Regions from separate parts of the Homo sapiens genome. Here all the other regions are linked to region 1. Evidence: promoter capture Hi-C in human tissues and cell types (Jung and others, 2019). All regions are on one chromosome and are shown on one strand. Each heading gives the region's core, a stretch centred on a gene start or on the middle of the fragment in contact. The rest is flanking DNA. Distances are from core to core; before and after follow the strand shown.

Region 1 (4,003 bases), core at 1,042-3,541:
TGCACACAATTAATTAATGCATCTAAACTGCAATTGAAATATAAGCTGTAATTGTTAAAATTCACAAATAGAGTTATATGTAATAATTAGATGATCAATTTTTTTTGTGATAAAACTGGAATTGAGTAAAACAAACAAAAAAGTAGACTTAAACATAATAGCACGTTTCGTTTCTTTGTTGCTTCCAAACAGGACTTTAAAAATATTTGATCCTTAAAAAAAAATCTTTGTAAATAAACTTAAATTATCTACAAAAATAGTAAACTTTTAATGACAGAAAAAATTTGTTGAATTGTGTTAAAATCATTTGAAAATTTTCAAAGAATTCAATTGTTTTGCCAATAAAATACGGGTTTTGAAAATGTAGCAGACTGTAGTTATTAAAAACAAAGCCCATGACACAGGAAAATATTTAAAATACTCATTCAAAACCAAGGGATAATATGAACAAATTTAATTGGATCTTAAATCTTATATAATATTTAACTTTCACATTCTATAATTGTGCTTTGGAATATTTTAAATTTATATAATTTTTTTCATGGGATTTCTACTATAAGTAGTATAAATTCACATTTTTAGAGACATAAAATTTAAAAGGCTTTCCAATTTGCAGGATCTAAATTTGTTAAACCTTCAAAAGAGGCCGGGCGCCGTGGCTCATGCCTGTAATCCCAGCACTTTGGGAGGCCGAGGTGGGCGGATCACGAGGTCAGGAGTTCGAGACCAGTCTGGCCAACATAGTGAAACCCTGTCTTTATTAAAAATACACAAAAAATTAGCTGGGTGTGGTGGTGTGCACCTGTAATCCCATCTACTCAGGAGGCTGAGGCAGGAGAATCGCGTGAACCCGGGAAGGCAGAGGTTGCAGTGAGCCAAGAGGGTGCCACTGCACTCCAGCCTGGGAGACAGAACAAGACTCCATCAAAAACAAAAAAACAAAAAAACCTCAAAAGAATATAAATAACAACAAAATTAATGAAATTTGTCTCATACAAATATGTGCTGAAGATAGGTTACCTTACAGGCCAGAAGAAGGTACTTGCGAAAATATTTGGACTGAAAAAATTACATATTTCAAAATGAAAAAAATAGAAAGGGTATTTTCTGTTTAGCAGAATTTCTATGAGCTTATTTTCTCAATTTAAAATACTATAATACATGGTGAACAGTTAAGTGAAGATGTCAACAATTTGACATATATCACCCATAAAGTACATGTTTTAGAAGAGTATAGGCGATTTAAAAAGTTGACAAGTAATAATACCATATTAAAATATATTCTTTAGAAAATATCAGTGACCCAGTCTTATAGACCAAAACACTAATTAAAATACATCAGCATACAGCAAGAATGATCATTTTATTATACATATATATATTTTGAGATGGAGTTTCACTCTTGTTGCCCAGCTGGAGTGCAACGGCTCGATCTCGGCTCACTGCAACCTCCGCCACTGTGATTCAAGCCATTGTCCTGCCTCAGCCTCCAGAAGTAGTTGGGATTACAGGCATCCGACCCCACGCCCAGCTAATTTTTGTATTTTTAGTAGAGACAGGGTTTCACCACGTTGGCCAGGCTGATCTCAAACTGCTGACCTCAGGTGATCCACCTGCCTTGGCCTCCCAAAGTGCCATTTTATTATGTTCATATTATCAATACAGACTTTACAAAAAGTTTTAGCTTTAATATGTAATTATATCATTTTAATTTTTAGAACTAATTTCCTTTCCAAAATGAATTTTGAATTGCACTTTATTGGCCCACCAATATAAAGTCTCAAAATCTCAAAAAATAAGAAAACGTATAATTTTAATTAATTACATTGCCCTCTTTCACTCTCAAGGGTCTCAGTTTGGGCAAAATATTATGTGGTCATCATAATTAGCATCCTAGTATGCTTAGGAGAGATCAGATGGGCTACACGGGATTTATGACTTGCTTTGGGTTACAGGCAATCTCAAACTTTCCTAATCACCAAGTGGGATAAAGAAGTAACACGGAGCCAGGGGGCTTGCCAAGAGATAGCTGCGACATGGAAGGAAAAGATCCCAACAGGTGTCACTAGGAATTATGTTGGTAGGTAGGAACACCCATCTCAATTCTTTTGTTTGATTCATTACAGAGGGACTTATATTAGAAGAACTCTCCTAATGGCTGTCTTTTTAGTTCCTCCCGTGGAGATAGCAATCATCTATCTGATTGGTCAGTTTGGAACGCGCAGTCCTTCATGTGACCGCCTCTTCCTTTCACCTAAGGCGGAAACTGCTCACAGGAAGTACCTGTTTTACCCGACCCCTCCAGGCTGTAAAACGGAAAGGTTCGGAATTTGCCTCTGCGCCGTCTTTTTTTGCCTGTTACCTGTGACGTCCTTGGTAAGTTTGTCTCATTCTGGGGTTCGTTGTCAGTAAGCTGACAGTTATAAGACATGGTCTTCATTCATTGCTCTAACAGTTATCAGGAAATATTTTGAAATTTTTTTTTTTTTTTGAGACGGAGTCTCACTCTGTCACCCCAGGCTGGAGTGCAGTGACGCCATCTCGGCTCACTGCAAGCTCCGCCTCCCGGGTTCACGCCATTCTCCTGCCTCAGCCTCCCGAGTAGCTGGGACTACAGGGGCCCGCCACCACGCCTGGCTAATTTTTTTTTGTATTTTTAGTAGAGACGGGGTTTCACCATGTTAGCCAGGATGGTCTCGATCTCCTGACCTCGTGATCCACCCGCCTCGGCCTCCCAAAGTGTTGGGATTACAGGCGTGAGCCACTGCGCCCGGCCAGATTTTTTTTTTTTTTTTTTGCCACTTTCCTTTTTTGTTTCATTTCTCCCAGAGGGAATGGAAAGACGTTATATTTTGGACCTTCCTCTCACTCTGACATCTAGGACATAGGATGGGAGTAAAAGGAAAATTAAAAGGAAAGGAATTGCATGTTGCAGAGCGATTTGTGTAGTTGTATCTTCTGGCATGGCTAAAGTGGGAAGTGTTGCACTCTGGCAGAACTGGTCTAGGTACCGATCATATATGTTCAGCTGTAGTGGCAATTTTGCCCACAGGAGAGTAGCTGTTTGTATATAAGCAGGTTTGCATACCTTGGGCTGTGAGCAAAAGCCAATAAGCTTTGAGGGACTCAGCAAACAAAATCTGACCAGGAGTGTTGAGGCATCCCTATTAAACGGGTGTTGGTCACGTGATTATTGCTGCTTGGCTTTGAAATCTGTAGAGGCAGTTTTTTCTAAGTAGCCTTGACTGAGAGAAGGGTATGATTATAGTCTTTTTGTGTACGAGCCTTACAGATCTCAAAGTGGTTCTAGGATGGCCAGTGGTATTTGCAGGAAATGTTTAGTGCCAGGCCTACATAGGGGGCATAGATAGTCTGCTCAAATTCTGGCTGGGTGCAGTGGCTGACACCTGTAATCCCAGCAGTTTGGGAGGCCGAGGCGGGAGGATCACGAGATCAAGAGATCGAGACCATCCTGGCCAACAGGGTGAAACGCATCTCTACTAAAAATACAAAAATTAGCCAGGCGTGGTCGCACGCGCCTGTAGTCCCAGCTACTAGGGAGGCTGAGCCGGGAGAATCGCTTGAACCCGGGAGGCGGAGGTTGCAGTGAGCTGAGATCGTCTCATTTCACTCCAGCCTGGAAACAGAGAGAGACTCCGTCTCAAAAAAAAAAAAAAAAAAAAAAAAGTCTGCTCAAATTCTGATCTTTTATATTGTTTTGACTCCTCTTCAGAGACAAGAGATGGAAGTTTGGTGTGACAAGTCTTGGAGTTATCTGACTTGGCCATCGATTTAATAGTTGTTCCTATTTTTTTTTTTATCTCACAGTGGCTTTGAATTTAACAATTCTGTGTACTCTGGTCATAACTTTTGATCTTTGAGATTCACACTGTGACTCCACCCATAGGAGGTGCATATGGATATCAAATTACGGAGTTGGATATTAAATTAAAAAGCAATGGGAACCCTTCTTGTAAAGACCATATAGATTTTCATAAATCTT
Region 2 (3,927 bases), core at 116-2,615, 45 kb after region 1:
TGGAGGTACTAGTACCCAATCTCCCAGGTCCAGATAACAGTGGTGGAGGAAGTTAGGTAGAATCTGTTAAGTGGGGGAGAATTCCACCTAACAAGTAGGGTTCTGTGTACTAAGGGATCATGGTGGTTAATTACGAGGTCCAGAGACATGGTCGTGAGATTTTCCAGATGTGCCAGGACGTGGAACTCTCTATCCTGGGGATGTTGATGACAGAGTCGGCAACCAAGAAGATGATTCCTTGATGCTATACTTTTTTGAAATATTTACTATAGAGTTTTCTCCCACCCACACTGAATTAGGTTAACTGGGGGAGCAAACAGGATTATCAGAGGCAGCATGATGTCTGGGTGGACCTTAGAGTGGCCTCTACACCCAACAAGGACAAAAGATGTGTTTCCTAGGAGGAAGCAGTTGTTCAAAGCGGTAGAGAAAGAGTATTATGATCAAGAAGAAGAGAAAAATTGATACTCCTATTCTTACCACAGCACCACATCTCTGTACCAAATTGAGCGTTGGTCCTTTTACAAAGGTAATGGACCAAAGGAGAAGAGGTTGTTATATGAAAAAGATACTTGCACATATATGCTTATCACAACACAATACACAGTTACAAAGATGTGGAACCAACCTAAGTGCCACCAACTAATGAGTGGCTAAAGAAAATATGGTACATACACAACCATGGACTACTTACTACTCAGCCATTAAAAGGAACAAAATAATGTCTTCTACAGCATGTTGGATGGAGCTGAAGGCCATTATTCTAAGTGAAGTAACACAGGAGTGGAAAACCAAAAAATATATGTTCTCACTGATAAGTGAGAGCTAAACTATGAGTACCCAAAGACATACAGAGTGGTATTAATATAATACTCAGAAGGGGGAGAGTAGAAGAGGTGCTAGAGATTAAAAAACTACACAGGCATACTGTATACTACTCAGGTGATGGGTGCCCTAAAATCTCAGAATTCACTGCTATTTAATTCATCCATGTAACAAAAAACACATGTATCCCCAAAGCTATTGAAATAATCATAATAATAATCATAATAAAAGCCCAGGTGCGGTGCCTTACGCCTGTAACCCCAGCACTTTGGGAGGCTGAGGCGGGCTGATCACGAGGTCAGGAGATGGAGACCATCCTGGCTAACACGGTGAAAAACCGTCTCTATTAAAAATACAAAAAATTAGCCGGGCGTGGTGGCCGGCGCCTGTAGTCCCAGCTACTCAGGAGGCTGAGGCAGGAGAATGGCGTGAACCCGGGAGGTGGAGCTTGCAGTGAGCCTAGATCGCGCCACTGCACTCCAGCCTGGGCGAGACTCCGTCTAAACAAACAAACAAACAAACAAACAAAAAACAACTCTGACCAACAACTCTAGGAATGGGCTGACTGGCCTGATAAGAATAGGCTGATGGTGCCTGCAGAAGACCACAAAACATTGACCAAGAACGCAATGATTAACTGCCCACCTGAGACAGCACACGATCATTTCACAAAAAAATATTTTGATGATTTCTCTTAACTTCTCTTAAAAACTCCTGATCCAGAGGCACAACTTGGAGAGGTGGTTTTTGAATGCTACTTCACTGCCTCCCTTCAGTTGTTGGCTTCTCCAATAAAGCTAACTTCCCTTTAGTTAAAAAAAAAAATGTCGTGGGTGGCCTTCAGAGACTCACAAGTGTAGGTAACATTGTTTGTATCTGAAACCTGGGGGGCTCATAAGAAACAGGTTTAATCCTGGATAGGTGTACTCAGCTGGTGATCCCCTGAAGCTTAATGGCAGTGGGGATACTTAACAACACCTGATAGGGGCCCTTCCATTTTGGTTGAAATTCATCCTTGGGGGATCCTTCTTTCCAAATTTTCAGTAAGACTAAGTCTCTTGGTTGAATGGGGGAGTTAATTATTTCCCTTGTTGGAAAGGGCAGTGCTTTATTTCCATATTCTTGAAGGGCCTTTTGAACGTGACCTAAATTCCAAATAGCGGGCATAGTGAGGCATGTCCGGCCCCTGTTTCCCATCATGACCTGAATTAGTTTTTCAGATTTCGATAGCCAATTAAACATTTTAGTCCAGGTGAGAATGGAGGTTGCTCAACACTCATTAGCCCTTAAAACTTTTTTTAAGCAATCTAAGAATTAAAAAACAAAGGTCAAATATAAAGTTTCAAGAACAGCAAAGAGTATAAAATCAAGTTATCCTGGAGGAAAACATTGCTTTTATAGACCTCTAAGATAAAATATTTCAGCATCAGTCAATATGAAGAGTTAAAACCAGAGGAGAAAAGGTCACAGGAGCTATGAAAAAGCTGGAGCATTATCGTATTAGGCCTTCTCAAAGGGAGAAAGAATTGAAAGCAGCAAGGCACAACAATAGTTGAATATGAGATATGAATCTGAGAAGTTTTAAAAGGAACAGGTTATGGAATTAAAATAAAAATTTCTTGTAATTTTATTAAGAGCAAATCAATATCTTAAGAAGATCTTGCTTTAACATGGGCGACTATTCTCTAGAAAGACAATTATAAACAATTCCCTTCTAATGACAGCCACTTAATTACACACAAAATTCCTTCATGAATTTTCTTTTACAAACTTTATCATGACTTACACAGACTATCACATGCTTGTACTTTCCGACTTGTCCTGTACTATCTCTTTCTTAAATAACCAGTTGTTCTCTAGGACAAGAATTCAGCATACAAGACCCTGTCTTGTATAAAATTAGTCTTTTTGTTAATATCCTTCCTTACCAAAAATACATATGTATATCTATAACTTTATTTACATTTCTCCCTCCTTATCAGTTCCTTTCTATCTCATTTCATAAATAACCTTTTCAAGTTGATAATTTGAATTAACCTTTACATAGCTTTTGAATTAGACAAAGTTATTCTTTTTCTCGATAAAAAGGCATATTCTTTGGCACATATTATATAAACCTACGAAGCAAGAAATCCTGAACTCTTTACCAGATGTTAGCATTTTAAAGATGAGAACAATTTCATAATTTTTAGAAACTTATCTTCCCATATATTATAATAACTCTTTCTTAATTGGAAATGACCCATACGTCCAGTAAACATCCAAAATAATTTTAAGATTTTAAGCTATACAAAAAGTTCACTTACAAGCATTTATCTCATTACACTTACCTAATTTATTTCTTTTTAATAGTTTAGCAAGATTACTTATAAAAGTTGTGCTACTAGGCAAATCTAGTCATCATTCAAAGTTACTTCCTGATTAAACATTTTTAAAGTCTGAACATTAGGTGAACACCTAATAAGAATCTTACAGTTGAATACATGAACATTTTGCTGATAACCCCAAAGATTCAGGTGTTTTTATTGAACCAACAATCTTAAATTAGTCTTATTTATCAAAATTTGAAAATTCGGAAGACATTTCTATTTTTATCCATAATTTTAAACCCAGTTTTATTTACCAAAGATTCACATGACTTTGAAAAGCATTTGGACTTAATTTATGAATATTCATTTGCGCTAATTTGATAGCATGCTAGACACAACACATAACACATGTACATACATAAACATATCTAAATATGTGTATACACACAGAAAGACGGAACACTTACCCATTTGCTTTTACCTCAGAATTCTAGTCATAAGATAGCAATATAAAATTCACCACTTTATAAAATATAGCTGGATTCAATTATTTCTTCAAAGATTGAGACCTGTCCATGTGGCTAAACTTCGTTTTCCCTGATAGGTAAGCCAAGGAAAGCTATAGAATAGAACTTGGGTAAAGTAGTTTTTATTACAGTTTTGATTTTAAAAACCTCTTTTCTCCTTTTTAATAAGGGGAGAGAGGGAAGGGGTTGATAGGATTGTTCTAGGGGTGCCCTTGGAGTCCTTGAGCTGCTGGAGAACTTAACCAGCAGTGGAGAAACTGAAGAAA
Region 3 (3,724 bases), core at 1,072-3,571, 53 kb before region 1:
ATATCAACTTGTAAGTCATTTAAAAATACAGAAAAACATAAAAGTAACTGTATGAGCTTAAACTTTATGTTGGTGATTAACAGCTTAAAAATTAAACAGCTGTGACAGAGCTAGATGTAGGCGAAGCTAATTGTTTGAAAGTTTCTTTCGGAGTTACAGGTTTTTTTTACAGAAAGGGGCAAAATCCCATGTATACTATTAGGAGGAACCTGTGGACATCTTTAAGTGAGTTGAAAAAACATTTTAATAGAGTTCATTGTGCAAAGCAAAGCAGCAGTTAGTTTTTGTTTGTGTCTTTAAAAATTGCTTATGTTTAATTTTTGTGACTACATAATAGATGCATATATTTATGAAGTACATGAGATGCTTTGATACAGGCATGCAATGTGAAATAAGCACATCATGGAAAATGGGGTAGCCATTTCTTCAAGTATTTATTATTTGAGTTACAAACAGTCCAAGTACATTCTTTAAGTTATTTCAAAATGTAAAATTAAGTTATTATTGGCTATAGTTGCTCTGTTGTGCTATCAAATAGTAGGTCTTATTCATTCTATTACTTTGTACCCATTAATCATCCCCATCTTCCCTCCACCAAACTCCCGCTACCCTTCCCAGTCTCTGGTAACCATCATTTTACCCTCTATGTTCATGAGTTCAATTGTTTTGATTTTTAGATCCCACAAATAAGTGAGAACATGCAAGGTTTATCTTTCTGTGCCTGGATTATGTCACTTAACTTGATGATCTCCATTTCCATCCATGTTGTAGCAAATGACTGGATCTCATTCTTTTTTATGGCTGAATAGTCATTCACTGTATATATGTACCACATTTTCTCTAATCATTTATCAGTTTATAGACACTTAGGTTGCTTCCAAATCTTAGCTATTGTAGACAGATCTGAAACAAACATAGGAGTGCAGATATCTCTCTGATATACTGATTTCCTTTCTTTTGGGTATACACCCAGTAGTGGAATTGCTGAATCATATGGTAGCTTTATTTTTAGTTTTTTGAGGACTCTCCAACTGTTCTCCATAGTGGTTGTACTAATTTATCTCCAGTGTTTGCTATTGCCTGCCTTTTGGATATAAGCTATTTTACCTGGGGTGAGATGATGCGTCATTGTAGTTTTGATTTGCATTTCTCTGATGATCAGTGATGTTGAGCACCTTTACCTATATCTGTTTACAATTTCCATGTCTTCTTTTGAGAAATGTCTGCTGTATTAGTCCATTTTCACACTGCTGATCATGACATACCTGAAACTGGGAACAAAAAGAGGTTTACTTGGACTTACAGTCTCATATGGCTGGGGAGGCCTCAGAATCATGGTGGGAGGTGGAAGGCACTTCTTACATGGTGATGGTAAGAGAAAAATGAGGAAGAAGCAAAAGCAGAAACCCCTGATAAGCCCATCAGATCTGGTGAGACTTATGCACTATCACAAGAATAGCACAGGAAAGACTGTCCCCCATGATTCAATTACTTCCCCCTGGGTCCCTCCTACAACAAGTGGGAATTCTGGGGGATAAAATTCAAGTTGAGATTTGGCTGAGAACACAGCCAGATCTTATTATCTATTCAAATTTTTGCCCATTTTTGATTGGATTATCAGATTTTTTCCTATTCAGTTGTTTGACCTCTTTATATATTCTGATTCTTAATCCTTTGTCAGATGAATAGTTTGCAGATATTTTCTCCCAATCTATGAGTTGTCACTTCACTTTGTTGATTGTATACTTGGCTGTGCAGAAGCTTTTTAACTTGATGTGATCCCTTCTGTCCATTGTGGTTTTGGTTGCCATGCTTCTAAGGTATTACTCAAGAAATTTTTGCCCAGACCAATGTCCAAGAGATTTCCCTCAATGTTTTCTTGTAATAGCTCAATGGTTTGAGGTGGTCTTAATTCATTTTGATTTGATTCTTGTATATGGCAGAGATAGGGGTCTATTTTCATTCTTCTGCGTATGAATAATACAGTTTTCCCAGCACCATTTATTGAAGGGACCGTCTTTTTCCAGCTGTATATTCTTGGCACCTGTGTTGAAAATGGGTTTGCTTAGGTGTGTGGATTTGTTTCTGGGTTCTCTATTCTGTTTCATTGATCTATGTGTCTGTTTTTATGCCAGTACCATGTTGTTTTGATTATTACAGATTTGTAGTATAATTTGAAATGAGGTAATGTGATTCCTCCAGTTTCATTCTTTGTGCTTAGGATATCTTTGGCTATTCTGGGTCTTTTGTGGTTCCATATACATTTTAGGATTGTTTTTGCTATTTCTGTGAAGAATATCTTTGGTATTTTGATAGTGATTGCACTGAACCTGTAGATTGCTTTTGGTGGTATGGAAATTTTATTAATATTGATTCTTCCAATCCATGAACATAAAATCTTTTTCCATTTTTTGGTGTCCTGTTCAATTTATTTCATCAGTGTTTTCTAATTTTCATTATAGATATCTTTCATTTCTTTGGTAAAGTTAATTCCTAGGTATTTAATTTTATATGTGGCTATTGTAAATAGGATTACTTTTTTGTTCCTTTTTCAGATTGTTAACTATTGACATACAAAAATGCTACTGATTTTTGTATATTAATTTTGTATCCTGCAACTTTACTGAATTTGCTTATCCGTTCTAATAGTTTTCTTGTGGAGTCTTTAAAGCAGCAGCTCTTAACATGGCCACACATTAGAACTACCCCATGGGGCAGGGTGGGGCCTGTGCCTGTGTATTAAAGAAGAAAACAAAACCAATAAGCAAGAAGTTAGATAGTTGTAGTAAATGTACAGTCAAAATTAGGAATTCTCGACCTGAAGGGATAGATCTAAGACAATGTGGAAAGCCCAATAAAAGCTATTGTATTTTACATTTGACACATCAGTGAGTCTGTGATTTAAAACAAACAAACAATTAAAAAGTATCTTTTTCTTCATGGAGTCCAACTGTACAAAAATAGTCAGATCCTCATAAAAACATAGAAGCAAACAAGCAGCGCCCCTCTCACTCTCTTTCCTCTTCTTCCTCTTCTTCTTCCTCCACTACTCACCTATCTCCTTCTCTCTCTTTCTCTCTCACTATCACTCTACTCAGCTTCTTTTTTGAACCAGCAGACAAATGCCTGTGGTCACTTAAATACAGTCTATGGTATTTGCCACATATGGTAGTCTAAGACTCCCTTTGTTTGCATATACCCAAATCAACACGTATATAAATCATCAACTTTATTTCTCTATAGATAACAGATCGGTCCCTTATTCATTCATTAATTGATTTATTCACTCATTCAACAAATATACATTTGTGCCAACTTTGTGCCCGATTTCCTGTTTAGAATCTGTGAGCCGATAGTGTACCAAAAAACAAATATCCTGCCAGGTGGAGCTTACATTTACTTGTGTGGGGCAAGGGAGAGGAGGCAGACAATACTGAAAAACATAAATAACAAAACAGGTGATGTGTTAGATAGTGATAGGGCTATGATAATAGTAAAGCACTAAAGGGGACAGGAAGTGCGGGAGGAGGATGAGGAGGATGGGATTCTGTTCTCAGAGAGATGCCAGCTGAAGAAATTAGGTTAGGCATTCACCCTGGCAGGGATTAACTGGTCAGGGTCCTGCAATTTATAGCTCTGCTCCTACAGGGCACTGGGCCCTTTAAGAATGGCGTGTGTGCAGGTGAAAAATTAATATCTTTCCACTAAGTAAGTTTAGATAGTT

The links. Contacts are between HindIII fragments. The study calls those that stand out against the background at their distance.
Region 2: a contact is called between a fragment that was not itself captured here and the fragment with the promoter of COX7B2 in region 1, in 2 of the 25 tissues and cell types used here (aorta and spleen).
Region 3: a fragment that was not itself captured here is called in contact with the fragment with the promoter of COX7B2 in region 1 in 1 of the 25 tissues and cell types used here (stomach).

Annotation. Positions count from the first base shown.
Region 1 is chr4:46,907,533-46,911,535 of GRCh38, reverse strand. COX7B2 (cytochrome c oxidase subunit 7B2) reads left to right here and starts at 2,291. Exons shown (of 3, transcript NM_130902.3): 1 at 2,291-2,376. The HindIII fragment of the contact is 11,120 bases long and covers 1-4,003 here.
Region 2 is chr4:46,862,072-46,865,998 of GRCh38, reverse strand. The region is part of intron 1 of COX7B2 (cytochrome c oxidase subunit 7B2); the gene reads left to right. Among named protein-coding and RNA genes, the nearest start is that of COX7B2, 45 kb to the left of the region's middle. The HindIII fragment of the contact is 4,587 bases long and covers 1-3,658 here.
Region 3 is chr4:46,961,154-46,964,877 of GRCh38, reverse strand. The region is part of intron 8 of GABRA4 (gamma-aminobutyric acid type A receptor subunit alpha4); the gene reads left to right. Among named protein-coding and RNA genes, the nearest start is that of GABRA4, 31 kb to the left of the region's middle. The HindIII fragment of the contact is 8,926 bases long and covers 1-3,724 here.